Regions from separate parts of the Homo sapiens genome. Here regions 1 and 3 are each linked to region 2. The links are contacts of gene promoters, found by promoter capture Hi-C in blood cells and fetal thymus (Javierre and others, 2016). All regions are on one chromosome and are shown on one strand. Each heading gives the region's core, a stretch centred on a gene start or on the middle of the fragment in contact. The rest is flanking DNA. Distances are from core to core; before and after follow the strand shown.

What was found. Contacts are between HindIII fragments. The CHiCAGO score rates a contact against its expected background, and 5 or more counts as called.
Region 1: a contact is called between a fragment that was not itself captured here and the fragment with the promoter of GALNT6 in region 2, in 2 of 17 cell types (M1 macrophages and megakaryocytes). The highest score is 6.5, in M1 macrophages.
Region 3: a contact is called between the fragment with the promoter of TMPRSS12 here and the fragment with the promoter of GALNT6 in region 2, in 7 of 17 cell types (activated CD4 T cells, naive B cells, naive CD8 T cells and 4 more). The highest score is 9.4, in activated CD4 T cells.

What each region holds. Positions count from the first base shown.
Region 1 is chr12:51,975,199-51,979,373 of GRCh38, forward strand. It overlaps ACVR1B (activin A receptor type 1B), which reads left to right. Exons shown (of 9, transcript NM_004302.5): 2 at 67-306; 3 at 1,129-1,377. Among named protein-coding and RNA genes, the nearest start is that of ACVR1B, 26 kb to the left of the region's middle. The HindIII fragment of the contact is 175 bases long and covers 1,632-1,806 here.
Region 2 is chr12:51,390,152-51,393,922 of GRCh38, forward strand. GALNT6 (polypeptide N-acetylgalactosaminyltransferase 6) reads right to left here and starts at 1,255. Exons shown (of 12, transcript NM_007210.4): 1 at 1,136-1,255; 2 at 699-786. It also overlaps a transcript of SLC4A8 not described here. RefSeq lists enhancers at 432-1,017, 1,018-1,602, 3,646-3,735 and a silencer at 1,288-1,827. The HindIII fragment of the contact is 14,269 bases long and covers 641-3,771 here.
Region 3 is chr12:50,841,364-50,845,450 of GRCh38, forward strand. TMPRSS12 (transmembrane serine protease 12) reads left to right here and starts at 1,563. Exons shown (of 5, transcript NM_182559.3): 1 at 1,563-1,788; 2 at 2,479-2,674. The coding sequence starts at 1,602. It also overlaps the pseudogene RN7SL519P. The HindIII fragment of the contact is 6,106 bases long and covers 1-4,087 here.

The DNA.
Region 1 (4,175 bases), core at 469-2,968, 590 kb after region 2:
GTTTGGAAAAGGACCTGCAAAAGATCTCACCATTGATGTCAATGTCTGCTCCCCAATTTCCTGCAGCTCTGCTGTGTGCGTGCACCAGCTGCCTCCAGGCCAACTACACGTGTGAGACAGATGGGGCCTGCATGGTTTCCATTTTCAATCTGGATGGGATGGAGCACCATGTGCGCACCTGCATCCCCAAAGTGGAGCTGGTCCCTGCCGGGAAGCCCTTCTACTGCCTGAGCTCGGAGGACCTGCGCAACACCCACTGCTGCTACACTGACTACTGCAACAGGATCGACTTGAGGGTGCCCAGTGGTGAGTGCATGCCCTTGTTGGGCTAGTGGCTCAGCTTGGAGATAGGGTACCCCGTCATTTCATTTTTTTCTACTCTTGCCCACTCACTTGGTTTGACGATAAAGATGCCTTTTGGATGTTCCCGAAGGTGACAAAGGCTGGGGTTTCTCAGCAGTTGCTTTTGTAGATTAGAGGGTGAGGAAGCAGATTTTCAAGTTAGTCCCAGAGGTGCCCGCAGTGTTTAGAGTAGTGGCTTAGCAGCCATAGGCAGCGGTGAGGAGTGGAAGAACCAGGCAGGGATTCCCACGGGAGGATGTGGGACTGATCCAGAAAGAGATGGCCCCAGAGCCGAGCAAAGGTGACTCCTCAAGGGAGGATGATGGTTAGATGTGAGGAGGGACCAGAATAGGAAAAGGCCAGTGACCAAAGCCGAGAAACACCACATACCATCCTTTTGCAAGCCTACCATTCAGGAGGCATTACTGTGGAGCCCACAGGAAAAGGAGAGAAACTAAAGCAGAGCTTAGAGGAGCTGTGGGAAGTTAAAGGGCAGAAACAGGCATCTGTGTAGGGGCCTGAGGCGGGGATAGTACCACGAAATGCGTGAGGTGACAAAGTGGGTTGTGGGTTTGACTGTGGAAAGAGGTGCCTTAACTAAAGAAGTTGGGCATTTGAGAGCATCTAGGCAGCAAGACTAGCCCAGAAGATTAGAGAGATCAAGGGAGCCTGAACACATCGACAGGGAAAGGGGTCTTTTTCACTCTTCACTTTGAGGGGGGTGTTTTTACTCTTTCCCTTGTTTTTACTTCTCATTCTTTCCCTCTCCTCTCTCACTTGACTCAGGTCACCTCAAGGAGCCTGAGCACCCGTCCATGTGGGGCCCGGTGGAGCTGGTAGGCATCATCGCCGGCCCGGTGTTCCTCCTGTTCCTCATCATCATCATTGTTTTCCTTGTCATTAACTATCATCAGCGTGTCTATCACAACCGCCAGAGACTGGACATGGAAGATCCCTCATGTGAGATGTGTCTCTCCAAAGACAAGACGCTCCAGGATCTTGTCTACGATCTCTCCACCTCAGGGTCTGGCTCAGGTACCAAGTTCTTCAGGGCATCATGTCTGTGGTTGGCTTTCATCAGTTTCCCAGCAGGATAGAGTGCTTGTAGAGAAGGCTGGAGGCCCTGCATTTGTTTCTACCAGCATTGAGTCATTTGGTTTCCTAGTTCCCCTTCTTTTGGAGTCTGACGTGTAATAAGATAAGATAATGGGTTCACAGAAAATCTCTCATTCCGTGGGATTCCCAAGGTCTAGTACACAATTATCCACTACAGAAGTCCTGCCTCTCTAAGCTTTGCAACTGTACGTACATCTATTAAAATTCAGCTGGTCCCACCTGAGCAGTGGAGTGCTCAATTTCAGGGCCCCTTTTGAGAAACAGGAGTGTGCCAGATTCCTGTGAGGTGGTGACAGCTAATCATTGATCTCTGAGCAACCACAAGGGGAGTTTAAGGACATCCAGTAAAGCTTAGAGTTGGGATTTGGTGAATCATTGACTTGTACCAGTTGCCCAAGGGTTTTTGGTGGGGGTGAAAATAAAGGCAGTGTGGGCCTCCAGCATAGCATCAGCACTATTTCCTGTACTGCCTTTTGTTGACCAAGTCTTTCTCAGATGAGGGAAATGAACCAAACACTGGACCTTGGCATAAGACGAGAATTTAAGATAAAGGAGCTCGGGGTTGTTTAGGTCTCAGGGTATAGCTCAGCTAGCTATTAAATGTGAACATGAATGCAAAAGAATTTTTTTACTTACTTATTTATGTATTTATTTATTTAGAAACAGAGTCTTGCTCTGTTTCCCAGGCAGGAGTGCAGTGGCGCAATTTCCGCTCTCTGAAACCTCCACCTGCCTGGTTCAAGTGATTCTCCTGCCTCAGCCTCCTGAGTAGCTGGGATTACAGGAATGCGCCACCACAGCGACTAATTTTTGTATTTTTAGTAGAGACAAGGTTTCGCCACATCAGTCAGGCTGGTCTTGTGTTCTTGACCTCAAGTGATCCGCCTGCCTCGTAAAGAATTTTTTTAATGAAGATAAACCATTATTTTTGTGACAATGGTATTGCATTCCTTTTTTTTTTTTTTTTTTTTTGTTTTAAGATATGGTCTCGCTCTGTTGTTGCCCAGGCTGCAGTGCCATTGTGCAATCACAGCTGACTGCAGCCTTAACCTCCTGGGCTCAAGAGATCCTCCACCTTAGTCTCCTGAGTAGCTGAGATGTCAGGCATGTGCCACCAAGCCTGGCAATTTTTTTTTTTTTTTTTTTTTTTGTGGAAGGTTTCACTTTGTTGCCCAGGCTGGTCTCAAATTCTTGGCTTCAAGTCCATTCTTAAAAAAGAAAAAAAACATCCACAAAGATCACTGTTGCCATTCTAGCTAAAACGCAGAGGATCTTATTTGTGAGAACTTTGCGTGTTTTTATGTATGTTTCCTTGACGTGGGACAAGACTGTTGTTCTGTGGGGAAATTATGCCATCAGTCATGCCCAGACATTCTGCTTGACACGGGAGTACTTTGAGCTGTGACATCTCCTGAATTTCAGTGGCTTTGCTTTTATTAAGCTCTGCAGTAGAGAGCACCAAAATGATGGATATATTTAAAAGCTGCATATTTTTAGAAACAGCAAAAATCTAGGGCTTGTTCCTTGTTGAAAGAGGTAGGGCAGTGGTTAGAACCTCCTGGCTGACTGTGGGAATTGATTTGCTGCTAGAGGAGGGTAGATTGGGTTTTCCAAAGTCTTTTTAAGACCCAGACCAGCTGAAACAAGGGAAGGGCCATGGTAGTTGTTTAGTCGTCTGTGGTAAAATGGTTAATAACTATTTCCCTCTGAGTGGTTTAGTATATTCTTCATTCAGAATATGCAGAGCTTCCAAGGTGTTAGGTTTCTAATAATGTGGTTTTTAAAGTAGTAAGTCCATGCTGCTCATATGACTTTCAATTCATTTAAATAAGTATATACTGAATACCTTCTGGGTGATATGGTTTTAAACAGATTAGAAAGAGCCTGACCCGGCCAGGCGCGGTGGCTCACGCCTGTAATCCCAGCACTTTGGGAGGCTGAGGTGGGTGGATCATGAGGTCAGAGGAGATCCAGACCATCCTGGCTAACATGGTGAAACCCTGTCTCTACTAAAAATACAAAAAATTAGCCGGGCGTGGTGGCGGCGCCTGTAGTCCCAGGTACTCAAGAGGCTGAGGCAGGAGAATGGTGTGAACCTGGGAGGCGGAGCTTGCAGTGAGCCGAGATCACGCCACTGCACTCCAGCCTGGGCAACAGAGCGAGACTCCGTCTCAAAAAAAAAAAAAAAAAAAAGGCTGACCCAGGATTGGATCAGAGAGACAGGAATTGTTGGGAAGAGTCTCACAGAGGAGGGCACATTTAAAGGAGTCTTGAGGCCGGGCAGATCACATGAGGTCAAAAGTTTGAGACCAGCCTGACTAACATGGTGAAACCTCGTCTCTACTAAATACAAAAAATTAGCCGGGTGTAGTGGCACACGCCTATAATTCCAGCTACTTGGGAAGCTGAGGCAGGAGAATTGCTTGAACCCGGGAGGCAGAGGTTGCAGTGAGCCCAGATCATGCCATTGCACTCCAGCCTGGGCAGCAAGAGCAAAGCTCCGTCTCAAAAAAAAAAAAAAAAAAAAGGCCAGGCACGGTGGCTCACACCTGTAATCCCAGCACTTTGGGAGGCCGAGGCGGGTAGATCACCTCAGGTCAGGAGTTCGAGACCAGCCTGACCAACATGATGAAACCCCCATCTCTACTAAAAATACAAAAATTATCTGGGTGTGGTGGCGGGCACCTGTAATCCCAGCTACTCAGAAGGCTGAGGCA
Region 2 (3,771 bases), core at 5-2,504:
CTTTCTTTTTTTTTTTTTTTTTTTTTTTGAGACAGAGTTTTGCTCTTATTGCCCAGGCTGGAATGCAATGGTGCGATCTCAGCTCACTGCAACCTCTGCTTCCCAGGTTCAAACAATTCTCCTGCCTCAGCCTCCCAAGTAGCTGGAATTACAGGCGCCTGCCACCATGCCCGGCTAACTTTTTGTATTTTTTGTGGAGATGGGGTTTTGCCATGTTGGCCAGGCTGGTCTCGAACTCCTGATCTCAGGTGATGCACCAGCCTCAGCCTCCCAAAGTGCTGGGATTACAGGCATGAGCCACCACATGTGGCCGGAACCAAAGCATATTTCAAACCCCTCACCTGACCTGGTTTTCATCATCACATGAATTTCCCTGTCTCATCCTTCTTAACCTTTCCTTTGATGGGAAGGGAGACAGCTCATCTGTCTGGAGCGGAGAATAGGGCCTGTGTGGTGCACACACATCTCTGGTAGAAGGCGCAAAAGTCCTCGAGGCTCTTTGGTGTGTCCAGAACTATGAACCTCACCCAGTGCCTGTAAATTGTGTGTGTGGGCCTGGGGGCGAGCTCAGAGCACAGAGTTAACATCCTTTCTGAGAGTGCTGCAATGGGTTGTCGGCTGCTAGAAGGGGTCTGCTGTAAGCTTTGTGGGCAAACTGACCACCCTCCACCCCCATACACAGAAGAGCCCCATCCTACCCTCTGCAGACGTCTGGGTCTGCGATGATTGGCCCTGGATGCAAGTAAAAGCTGTTTCTCCTTTTTGTCAGCCTGGGAATCTGAACAACTGAGGAAATAGGGAAGTCGGTGACAGTCACAGTCATGAACACCCAGCAGATTCCATTTCCCCACAGCAGGAGGCAGATCCCTTCCCACCCCCAAAAGCCCCCAGGCTCTGGAGGGAATTCAACCAAGCAGGGCTCAGACCGACCTCCACCAGCGAGGCTTCTCCTTGCTGTCCCCTTCTGCTCAGGCGCAACGTGGCAGGGCAGGAGGAAACCTCTCTGCAAGAGTTGCCGTACCAGAGCACATGGGGTGGCCCGATCTGGGGAGACGGGGCACAGAAGGAATGCAGGGCATGGGTGGGTGAGGGGAAGAGGGTGTGGAGCCCTGGCTCTGGCTTGTCCCCCTCTCACCCCTCCAAGTTCCAGAGGTCTGGGCTCCTCATTCATCTCGTAAGCGCCAAGGTGGAGGGGGGTCCTACCGAGGGAGGAGCTACAGGCCACCGCGACCAGCAGAGAGCGAAGGCAGGAGGGACCAGCCTGGCCCAGCCCCTTCATTTTACTGTCGGGGGTAGTGAGGAGGAAGAGGAAGAGGCGAAGGCTGGCGGAGGAGGAGGTGAGAGCGAGGACTCGGCAGAAGCGAGATCCGCCGAAGGGAAGTCCGAGCAGTCGGGGAGCTCAGGGGGGCCCTCCCGGGGAGAGGGTCGCGGGCTCCTTCTGCCGCTTACCTGTCGCGCCGAGGCAAAGCCGCAGCCGCGCCGCGGGGTGGCTCCCGGGTTTCCCCACCGGACGGCCGGGAGGGTGGGACCGGGGCGGGACCTCCCCCAGCTGCACTAACGCGCCCGCCCCGCCCCTCCCTGGCCAGGTGCAGCGGGTCCCGCCGTGTCCTCAGCCTGCTGCGGGCCCGGGAACTCCCGGCGGACCGGCAGAGGGGCGCCCCGGCTTCTCTGCGTCTCAGCCCGCCCCGGGGGTGCGGTCTTTGCGGCCAGGCTTTCAGCGCGGAAAAAGATTGGAGGGTCCTAGTCACCCCAAAGAGGACAGGCATTAGCAGAGCCGCGGGCGGCGGGTGCATGGAACCGGAATGTGCTGCGCGCCAGCCTGGAGCGCTCGGAGCCCGGAGGCCTGCCCCGGAGGGGGAAACGCGGCGGGGCGGCCATGGGCCCCGGGGTCCTGCCCCAGGTTTGCTTCTCATTTGTGCTCCATCCAACAAGAGCTCGTATTCCGTGTGCCATGAACTGTGTCAAGGGCTCCAAGTGCCAGGTATCAGGTGAATCCCAGCCCCAGCAAACTTTAAACCTACTATGATTATTCCGAATGTACCGGGGAGGCAGCTGCTCACACAGCAGAGGGTGTTTCTCAAAGTGGGATCCCCCACCAGCAGCGCCAGTCAGAATCACCTGAGAACTTATTAGAAATTTTGGCCGGGCGCGGTGGTTCATGCCTGTAATCCCAGTACTTTGGGAGGCCGAGGCGGGCGGATCACAAGGTTAGGAATTCGAGACCAGCCTGGCCAACATGGTGAAACCCCGTCTCTACTAAAAATACAAGAAATTAGCTGGGCGTAGTGGCGGGCGTCTGTAATCCCAGCTACTCGGGAGGCTGAGGCCGGAGAATCGCTTGAACTCGGGAGGGGGAGGTTGCAGTGAGCCGAGATCACGCCACTGCACTCCAGCCTGGCGACAGAGCGAGATTCCGTATCAAAAAAAAAAAAAAAGAAAAAAAGAAAAGAAAAGAAAAGAAATGGGCCCCACCGCAGACCTAAATATTCCGAAACTCGGGTTGGGCCCGGCGACTTGTGTTTTAAAAGCCCTCCGGGTGATTTTGTGCATGCTCGACCTTGAGAACCCTGAACAATTAGTGGCAGGGCTGGAATGAGAATCCTGGTAAACCCGCCTCCTAAGCCGGTGTTCGGAATTACCCCGCCAGGGCCCGTGCTGCTCAGTGGTCCTCTCCGGCGCTGCCTCGTGTGCTGCAATCTTTTGGGGCCTTAGCAACAGAGAAGGAGCGCGCATGACTCCAAATAGCCAATAATTTGAAAACTTTCTATGGTAGAAACTTCTACCACTAGTTCAGTTTCTCTTTTGTTTTGATATTTAAATAAATTTGTCTTTCTTTCTTTCTGTTTTCTTCCTCTTTCTGCTGCCCCGCCTCCCTCCTTTTTTCTTTTTTCTTTCTTTCTTACTCTCTCTGTCTCTCCTTTCTCTCTCTCTCTTTCCTTCTTTCTCTTTCTTTCCTTCTTTTTCTCTTTCTTTCTCTCTTTCTTTTCTTTTCTTGCTCTACTGCCCAGGCTGGAGTGCAGTGGAGCTATCACGGCTCACTGCAGCCTTGACCTCCGGGTCTCAAGCTGTTCTCCTGCTTCAGCCTCCACAGATGCATGCCACCATGCCCAGCTAACTTTTTTTTGTAGAGAGGGAGTTTCGCCATGTTGCCCAGGTTGGTTTCAAACTCCTGGGCTCAAGCCATCCTGTTGCCTCGGCCTCGCAAAGTGATGGGATTAGAGGCATGAGCCACCGAGTCCAGCCATGAATTTGTATTTCTAAGACCCTAAGACCTGGGAGCAGGAGCATGAGTGAGTAGATCCTAGCAAGAAGTTCTGACACGCACTGGGAAAGGCAGGGAAGCCAGCCGGGTGTTAACAGGTGAATGAAGAAAGTAATCTTTTTTTCTAACCTGAGACTCCAAGGTAGGTTTGATCTATTCAGAAGGTGAGATGTTCTTTGATGGAGTCAGGAGAGAAGGCCAGCAGAGTGTGGAGAAGAAGAGTTGCCCAGCTACACATGATCAGAGTGACGTGAAGGATGGACATTCTCCCAGGAGTAGAAAGGGGTTCATCTGCTCACTCTTGGCATGATGCCCGACTCCCCTAACTCTAAGCAGCCTTCCACCAACTCCCTTCCTTTCACATTCCAGGCCGTGGGCTTTAAGCTCCTAGAGAGACTTTCTACAGAGCTTCCTTGAGCATCCCTTAGCCCATCTGTAGACCCTCTGGACTCTGATTCCACCTCACTGCCCCAGCTGCTTCTATTCTTGTCATGTGCCTTACTTGACAG
Region 3 (4,087 bases), core at 313-2,812, 550 kb before region 2:
GGATATTTGTCTGCAGATAGGAGTGATCCCACCAAAGACAGGAAATGACAATGCAGGAGAGGAGAAAAGGCAGAGGAAATCCAGGAAGAAGACCTCTGCAGTTATTGATCCACTGCCTTTTTCATTTTATTTGGAGAGATGGGGTCTTGCTTTGTTGCCCAGGCTGGAGTACTGTGGCTATTCACAGGCATGATCTCACTACCAATCAACACAGGAATTTTGATCAACTCCATTTCCAGTCTGGGCCAGTTACCCCTCCTTAGGCAACCTGGTGGTTCCCCACTACCCGAAGGTCACCATATTGATGCCAAACTTAGTTGACCAGTTGACATAGCATACTACAGTCCAGAACTCCTGGGCTCAAGCAATCCTCCTGCCTCAGCCTCCTGAGTAGTAAAACTAAAAAATATATTGTTTAAAGCAGTGCTGTATAATAGAACTACAGGCATGTGCCACCGTGCCCAGCCCACTGCCTGTGTCACTGCTATTTGATGACTTGGCTGCATATACTTGCTTTATGAGTATGTTAAACCTCTACTATCTGTCATAGCAAGACCCGTCATCCTTATCACGTTGGCTATGGGTTTAAAAAAAGAAAAAAAAAGTCATCTTGCCTTGTTTACAAAGGCATACACAATCTGACCACATCTCACACACACAGAAATACACACACCCCAACTGTGTTTTTCTCCTCCTAATATCACCTTCCACTAAAATATCTGGGGAATAAGGACTTTGTTTCTTGTCAGCCCTCAGAGATCAGCTCATGCTGCAATTTGTTTCTCCAATATCACCTCCTCCACCCCAATTTCGGCACAGCTCTGAGACTCTGCTCCCTTCCCCACATGTTACCATGTGTAAGCCCCAAACTCATATACTCCTTTTATCTAATGCTGCCAACTGCACCAGCCTCGGAAGGATGGTATGAGCAAGGCAACTGTCCTTTTATTGACCTCTACGTTAACTCTCCACCACCTCACCAACTTCCCACAGCCCACACGGTCTTCTTATTACTGAAGGTGTTGGGTTAACAAAGGCAAAGTTCAGTATAGGTCAAGATAGGAATGACAGAACAATTTAAAACTGAACATTAGGTATCACTCTTAAAAACTCTGGGTTATGTTAAAGAAAAATTATTCAGTGATACTCATTAAAGCACAGCAAGGCAGACTTTATTCAGGACCATCCAGATAGGGATAGGGACCATGGCAATGGGATTTTGTAATGGGTAGAGGGACTGGGCTAAAATCCAAACAGAGCAGAGCCAAGGGAGAATTTACAGCCACGGAGCAGGAGAGACGTGTCAGTGGATGGAAAATTACTAAGAGGTAGCATCAGGAGTAATGGCATTCCGGCTAACCGACCTAACAGGATTCTTGCTGGACAGGCCAGGGTGATCAGACATCACCTGGGGGATAGTGGTGGATGAGGAAGCCGATCAGACCTTGAGGGTGAGGGGTTCTTTCTAAACTGACCTACCTATTCCTCGGCCGCCTCCCACACCTCCGGGCCTCACTCGCGCCTCCCCGCCAGGCCGTGCGCCCCGCGTGCCCAGGGCGGGTGGGAAGTACCTGCCGCCATCTTGCTCACCAGCCTCCAAAATGCGGCTGGGGCTCCTGAGCGTGGCGCTGTTGTTTGTGGGGAGCTCTCACTTATACTCAGACCACTACTCGCCCTCTGGAAGGCACAGGCTCGGCCCCTCGCCGGAACCGGCGGCTAGTTCCCAGCAGGCTGAGGCCGTCCGCAAGAGGCTCCGGCGGCGGAGGGAGGGAGGGGCGCATGCAGAGGGCAGTACCTGTTCGTGCCTGTCTCTGGGGAGCCTCTCTTACCTTTTCCCCACCGCTATAGTCTTTGAATTCGGGTTTCTCCTTTTCTGTTGTCCCAATGGCCTTTAACCAAAATTTTACATACCTAAGCAGTTTCTAGACCGGCTGTAATAACAGTAGTTGTAATAGTGAAATGACACATTTGTATTGTGAATCTGTATTTTCTCCTCAAAACATTCTGGGTTTTATCATCCCCATTTTATAGATTAATAAGTCAGGGGATAAAGAGTTGAAAGGGAGGGCTATTAGGTGACCATTTCATACTATAGTTGAGAAAAATTAGCCCAACAAGTGAAATGGTGAGCATTAGAATTTGCGGCTCTCGACTCACCGTTCCCAGGCTCTTTAACTGCTATTTCACACAGGGAAGAATGTGATACGTGGCCAAAAATTTTTATTTTTATATTTTTGGGGAATAGAGTTTTAAAATTAATGAATTGTGTTGACTTCATGTCTATTTGTAAGTAATCGATTATGGCATATTTGTCTTAACTCTCCAAGTTTCTTTCAAAATATGGGCGTGTCTCCGGTATGTTAGCTTGCTTTGTGTTTTTAACATAGGAATTTAAAGGATTGCATTAATATGTTCAGCTTAGGAAGTAACACATACTATAGATGCTCAGTCCAAATAATATATCATTTTTATTTTTAGATTGTGGAACAGCACCGCTTAAGGATGTGTTGCAAGGGTCTCGGATTATAGGGGGCACCGAAGCACAAGCTGGCGCATGGCCGTGGGTGGTGAGCCTGCAGATTAAATATGGCCGTGTTCTTGTTCATGTATGTGGGGGAACCCTAGTGAGAGAGAGGTGGGTCCTCACAGCTGCCCACTGCACTAAAGACGCTAGGTACGTATTCAGAACACAACTATTTTTATGCTCTTAGGGGATATTTTGAAGTGATAGAGGACCATTTAACTTCAGCCATTTTCAGCTAAGCTATGTTTGCAAATAGCCATAATGCCTTATATATAGTACAGTGTATTTGTTGAAAGGAATCCTTTATTTATTATTATTATTATTATACTTTAAGTTCTGGGGTACATGTGCAGAACGTGCAGGTTTGTTACATAGGTATACATGTCCATGGTGGTTTGCTGCACCCATCAACCCATCATCTAACTACATTAGGTATTTCTCTTAATGCTATCCCTCCCCTAGCCCCCTACCCAGGAATCCTTTATTTTTTACTTTTTTTTTTTTGAAATGGAGTGTCACTCTGTTACCCAGGCTGGAGTGCAGTGGTGCAATCTTGGCTCACTGCAACCTCCGCCTCCTGGGTTCATGCGATTCTTCTGCCTCAGCCCCCGGAGTAGCTGGAATTACAGATGCCTGCCATCATGTCCAGCTAATTTTTGTATTTTTAGTAGAAAAGGGGGTTTCACCATGTTGGCCAGGCTGGTCTTGAACTCTTAACCTCACGTGATCTGCCCGCCTCAGCCTCCCAAAGTTCTGGGATTACAGGTGTAAGCCACCATGCTCGATCATGGATCTTTTAAATTAGAGGCTGGTAAACTTCCTATAAAGGTAGTAAATATTTTACACTTTGAAGGTCATATGGTCTCTCTCACAATTGCATGAAAACCAGCACTGAAAATAAGTAATTGAATGAGTGTGGCTATAATCCAATAAAACTTTATGAACACTGAAATCTGAATTTCATATGTTTAACGTGTCATGAAATATTGTGGTTGATTCAGCCATTTAAAAATGTAGAGTAGGGCATGTTGGCTCATATTTGTTATCCCAATGCTTTGGGAAGCCAAGACGGGAGGATCACTTGAGGCCAGGAGTTTGAGACCAGCCTGGGAAATATAGCGAGACCCTGTCTCTATATTTAAAAAAATTGTTAATGTAAAAAACATGCTTTATGGACTGTATGAAAACAAGAGACATGCCAGATTTGGCCTTCACTATTAGACTCTTTGAAAAAGAGACTCTCTTTGCTTCATCTCCATTGACCCATAAAATCCAACTGCAGTCTGATTTTTGTGGCCAAATGCTGTTAAAGATCCACTTCCATGCCAAATCCAATGACTTCATCTCAGTTCCCATCCTTTTTGACCTCTACAGCCTTTGGCAATGTTGACCACATTCTCTTCTTGAAATTATCTCTTTTCTTGATTTCTAAGACACCATTCTCTACTTTTTTCTCCTGCTTCTTTGATGAGTCTTTGTCATCCTTTACATTGCAGTGTTTTCTAGAGTTTGCCCTCTGCCCTCTGTCATTCTGTACTCTTTCCTAGAGATGTCTAATCTACC